Linked DNA regions of Homo sapiens: region 2 is linked to region 1. Evidence: promoter capture Hi-C in 16 types of primary human blood cells and fetal thymus (Javierre and others, 2016). All regions are on one chromosome and are shown on one strand. The core of a region is centred on a gene start or on the middle of the fragment in contact, and the rest is flanking DNA. Distances in the headings are between cores, read along the strand shown.

The links. The method cuts DNA at HindIII sites, captures the fragments that hold promoters and counts their contacts. A CHiCAGO score of 5 or more calls a contact.
Region 2: a fragment that was not itself captured here is called in contact with the fragment with the promoter of SEMA5B in region 1 in 1 of 17 cell types (M2 macrophages); the score reaches 6.1 in M2 macrophages.

Annotation. Positions count from the first base shown.
Region 1 is chr3:123,026,404-123,029,216 of GRCh38, reverse strand. SEMA5B (semaphorin 5B) reads left to right here and starts at 1,454. Exons shown (of 23, transcript NM_001031702.4): 1 at 1,454-1,753. RefSeq lists an enhancer at 343-850. The HindIII fragment of the contact is 2,453 bases long and covers 546-2,813 here.
Region 2 is chr3:122,820,691-122,823,503 of GRCh38, reverse strand. All of the region lies in intron 2 of SLC49A4 (solute carrier family 49 member 4), which reads right to left. Among named protein-coding and RNA genes, the nearest start is that of SLC49A4, 27 kb to the right of the region's middle. The HindIII fragment of the contact is 573 bases long and covers 1,090-1,662 here.

The sequences.
Region 1 (2,813 bases), core at 205-2,704:
CTCCATTCTGCACATTATGAGTTTCAGCATTTCTGTTGCCCTAGAAAGTCTATCTTTGAGATCTTGCACTGTTTCTCTTTTTACAGTGTCTCATAAACTCCCTTCTTGGATTCAGAACCACCCTTTCTTTCCCATTATCCTGTCAAACTGCTTCTTGCCATGGTCCAGGGGTAGGAGGATGGCAGGCAGGAGGTGCTTCTCTGGGGCTCTTAGTGTCTCAATTCTTCTGCTTTATCTGGGTTTTCCTTTACCCAGAATTTTATTATGTAAAATGCTTCACTCAGACTTTGTTCTAATTATCCAATTTTTGGCATACTCTAGAAAGTCTTTTGATATTTTCCTTCCTCCAACTTATCTATTTTTATTTCATAGTTCTCTTTGGTTATCTCTTAGAATCACACTTTCCTGGTTTTAATTTTTCAAATCCTTTGTCTTTCTCACTCGTTCTTAGGTCACCTTTTTTTACATTTTCAAATATATTTTTTGTTCAGCAGAGGGCTCCCTTCCCATCCCTCTTGCAGCCCGGGCAGCTAGGATTTGAAGCTTGCCCCTTGAATCTTTCTCTCCCGCCTTCTAGCCATCAGAAACACTAGATCACTTAAACTTGTAAACAATTCGGCCTCGCTCCTTGTGATTGCGCTAAACCTTCCGTCCTCAGCTGAGAACGCTCCACCACCTCCCCGGATCGCTCATCTCTTGGCTGCCCTCCCACTGTTCCTGATGTTATTTTACTCCCCGTATCCCCTACTCGTTCTTCACAATTCTGTAGGGTGCGTATTACTAACCCCAGTTTACAGCTGAGGAAACTGAGGCTTGGAGAGGTTCGCTCGGTATCGTACAGTTTGCAAGGTTAACCCTAATCCGGCCAGTTCTGGCTTTCCAGCCCAGCCCAGCAGCCTAGCCTCCCTCTCTGCCGCTGCAGGTTATAACGGCTCTCCCCCGTTTTACACGAGGTCCCTTCCCCTTCAAATCCACAGGCAGGAAGATCGTTCCGAACTGACGGGGCTGGGGAATGTGGGAGTCCGGAGTGGGGTTTGGGGGAGCTTCCTCAGGCCCTGAGTGTTGGGGTGGGCAGGCCGCGCCGATGGCCCTCGGGGATGTCACATTCGAGATGGGGTGACCGAGAACGGCAAGGCGGGATGTGGCAAACGGCGGCAAGTGCTCGGAGTCCTAGGTCTTGCCGCCGGAATGCCGGCCGGGGAAGGGGCTTCGGCCCACCGGGCTGGTCACCACACTCGGCAGGCCCGGGGCGGGAGTCGGCCGAGCAGCCGCGGGATGCAGGGCGCCCCCTCGCGCTCCTCCGCGCGCCTCGAGGCTGGCGGGTGCAGCGCCCGCCGCGGCAGGTCTGCTCCAGCCCCCTCCTCTTTTTCGCTCCCGCTCCCCTCCTTCTCTCCCTTTGCTTGCAACTCCTCCCCCACCGCCCCCTCCCTCCTTCTGCTCCCGCGGTCTCCTCCTCCCTGCTCTCTCCGAGCGCCGGGTCGGGAGCTAGTTGGAGCGCGGGGGTTGGTGCCAGAGCCCAGCTCCGCCGAGCCGGGCGGGTCGGCAGCGCATCCAGCGGCTGCTGGGAGCCCGAGCGCAGCGGGCGCGGGCCCGGGTGGGGACTGCACCGGAGCGCTGAGAGCTGGAGGCCGTTCCTGCGCGGCCGCCCCATTCCCAGACCGGCCGCCAGCCCATCTGGTTAGCTCCCGCCGCTCCGCGCCGCCCGGGAGTCGGGAGCCGCGGGGAACCGGGCACCTGCACCCGCCTCTGGGAGGTGAGTCCCGGGAGCCCCGGGCGCTTCCCCTGCGCGGGTTGGGGCTGCAACTTGCAAACTTCAGCAACTCGGGTGGGTATCGGGGTAGAGAGGTAGGGGTCCGGGCTCTGGCAAGTTGAAGCCAGGTAGGTGAGGCTGCGGGCGGGAGGACAGGGGGTCCCCTGGCTTCCGCGCCTCCCGCTGCCACCTCGGCTTGAGAGCCCTCATCGCTGCTGCGTTCCCGCCGCCAGCCAGCTTGGGTCCGGGTTGCACTGGGCCCTGCCAGGGCTGTGGTCGGCGCATCTGGGCTGCAGCGGCGATGGGGACCCGGGACCCAGGCCTGGAGAAGGAGACGGACGAGTGAGGCTGAGGGACGGAGGGACAGAGGTGCGGAGATGGAGGCTCAGAGAGGGCCGGCTAGTAAACAGCACTGAGGGAGAGTGCGGGCGGCGAGGCGCGTGGGAACGCGTGGCCCGCCCAGAGTGTGAAATCTCCCGCTCAGGGACGTCCCTGCTCCACCGCCGCCGCCTGCGGAGCCGCCGCCCGGATTCTTCCCAGACCCGCCTCCAGGACACTCTTGCCCTGACCAGGCCTGCGGAGCGTGAACTCTGCCCACCAGGCTCCAGGGGCAGTGGCTCAGGGCCCCGCACTCCCGGCTGGGAGGGTGGAGAGGGGTGCGGCAGCTGGAAGCAGGGACGCGAGCGGCGATTTCCCGATTTATGTTTCTCATGGTAATTTGTCTTTGTGGTTGGGGCTGCCCATTCACTTTCCGCTCACGTCCTGCGGGAGATCCAGCGAGGAGGGAGGGAGCGGGGGGCGCTCGGGCACAGAGAGGGATGCAGACGGGAGAGGGGATCGGGGACCCGCGCGGGGCGGGAGCCAAGAGGGAAGTGGTCGCCGGACCGGCGGAGGAAGAAGGCGAGGCTCGAGAAAACCCGGCCCAACGGAGCCGACTCCTTTGCCCACCGCAAACTTTAAACAAGGAGGAGGATCACCTGCAGCGCCGTTCTGGCCCCCTCCTCCCCGCCCCCGCCCCCCACCTCGAGCCCAGTCTTTGGGTAGTTCCGACTGCCCGCCGCGC
Region 2 (2,813 bases), core at 127-2,626, 210 kb after region 1:
ATCCCTAAAAGTACAGTGATACTAGCACTGTAGCAGGAATATAAAGAAAAAGAAGGCAATAGTTAGGCCTTGCCCTATGCTTATGCTGCCTATGACAAGAGTACAGATGGAGGTCTCTGCATGTCCTTCTTCTCTTCTGACCTCTGGCCCTGGCCTATATATCAGGGCTTTGCATATATGCATGTGGAGCTGAAGGTCCAACTCCATCTAAGCTCCAACTATCCCCTCCAAACAGCTGCCCCTTAGCTATCCCTTAGGCCTAGGAAGTACACAGCAGGGATGCAGCCTACTCTTGGAAGAGCAGGCCTGGGAAACAGGCTTGTTGTAAGGCCTATTTCTGGGGTCTTGTGTAGCTAGTGCATAAGACTAGAGGGTAGAGGGCAGGGTGTGCACATCCCCTTGGCCCTATGAAATCCTCAACCCACATGGAAGGGCAAGGCTGAAAGAAAGCCAGAATGGGACACCCTCAGGCATGGAATCCAGGACAGGGACTCTATGGCATGGTTTAAAGTGGTACTGGCAACACAGTGGGGAGGTGGAGGGCGGATGGTCTGGAGAACCGTTAAGGTGATACAATATATATGGCAAGGAGAGGGGGTGGATACTGGAGGGCACCCATAACTCTGTGCAAACATCTAACATGTGGCTAATATAGGCCAGAAGCTAAGAAAAGCAGTCTGAGCTGAGAAATATAAGTTGTAGGTGGATTGGGGTGGGGAAGAAACACTAGAGAATAACAACATTTTAAAAATAGAGGAATGGGAGTCGAGCAAGATGATTGAGAAGGAGCCATTACAAGGCAGAAAAAAAGCAAAAGAGGAAAGACTGGTATCACGGCAACTAAAGAGAGACGAGTTCCAAGAACATAAGAGCAAGTGGTCAACAACATCACATCAAACAGAAAGATCGTTTATAATAACTGAAATGTAACCACCAGATTCAGCAAAGAAGAGGTCATTTGTGGTCTGAGTAGAAGCAGTTTCAGTGGAGTGTTCAGCATGGAAGTCAGACTCATGAGGAAATCGAAATCTAGATTTAGACTATTTCTAGAAGAAACAGATGCAGGAATAAAAATTAGCTATATAAGCTTAGCGAAGTGAACTGAAAAGAAAAAACATCCAGCTTAAATGAACAGTCTGAACTAAAAAGTCTCTCCACTTTCACACATTAAAAGATAAAATGCGACTCACGATTATCCTAATGCTTTCTAAGCACTTATGAAAGAAGCTGGCTCTCAGAAACTAGTACCTGTTGATCTGGGCTGACTATTAAAAACGACAAAGAAAAACGAAGGAGGGGGATTCATAATCTTCAGTACAGTGAAGTCAACCACACAGTTTAATATTAATTGTTTGTCATCATTACATGCCTCAGTTTTGTTTTGCTAGGTAAAAGTTAAGGTCCTTGTAGGTCAGGATCATGGCAGCAGTCCCCACAGGCCTCACTCCCATAGCGCTAAGGCAGTGTGGATGCTCTCGGGAACTCACAGACTGGGCCCAGTACAGGGACATGCAGTCACTGAAATATGCAACTAAACTGTGTTTCCAAAACTTCACAAAGTTATCCAAATGCATACATCAGATCAGTTCTATTGATAAATTTTAACAAGTTTAAATTCAGTAATACAAAAAACAAGATGACTAATATTCTCAAAATAAAGCTTTTAAAAAAAGATGTTTTAGGGTGCTTTAAAAGCAAGGCCAATGTGACATTTTAAAAAAGGATGTTTTAGGGTGTTTTAAAAGCAAGGCCAATGTGACATAACTGTCTCAAGCACAGTGGACTTGGGAAGGGTGGGCAGAAGTTAGGAGTGTGAGGAGGCAGTTTTGTCTTCTGGGCAATAAGCTCTGGAGCAGAAAGGCAGTTGTCCAGTAATGGACTAGTTAATTCAAGGGGTCTGACTCTTGCCTCCTTACCCGAAACTCCACACCTGATGAAAGCACGTGTATCCTCACAGTTAATGGACTGCATTTCTCTTGCACCTCTGCAGGTCAAGCTGTGAGAGATCTGTCAGGAAGCAGATGTGTGCCTCCTCCTTCAGCCCAGTCTCCTCATACTGACTCCTTAACTCTCTCCTGTTTCTCCATCCACCTCCCAACCCACGGCCCCCAACTCCCTTTTCTTCCCTCTTCTCTGAAGTCTTTCTCCTTTTCCCTTTTTTTCCTCCTTACCTAGCCTCTGTCTACTTCTGAAGCCTGGCTCATCCCATCCCCACAAGCCAGATGGAAAAGTGAATGAGAGAGGGTGTATTAGTCCATTCTCTGCTGCTAATAAAGACATACCCGAGACTGAGTAATTTATAAAGAAAAAGAAGTTTAATGGACTCACAGTTCCACATGGCTGGAAGGCCTCAGAATCATGGTGGAAAGCGAAGGAGGAGTAAAGGCATGCCTTACATGGCGGCAGGCAAGACAGTGTGTGCAGGGGAAATGCCCTTTATAAAACCATCAGATCTCACGACACTCACACACTATCACAAGAACAGCAGCATGGGGGTAACCACCCCCGATTCAATTACCTCCCACCAGGTCTCTCCCACATGTGGGGATTATGGGAACTACAGTTCAAGATGAGATTTGGGTGGGGACACAGCCAAACCATATCAGAGGGGAACTTCTCCTGCATTGGCAGAGCAGGAATGGTGGAGACTAGAGAGGGAGACCTGGTGCTGCCCACTAGCATCAGCACTGCTGAGACTTCTAGCCTGTGGCAGGAATAGGAGAGGACCCAGCCAGGCTCAGCCCCAGGTGCGCTGCAGAGTCCCACTGCCCTCGATTAGTGCCCCTGCCCACAGAGGACAATGCCTGCAGGGG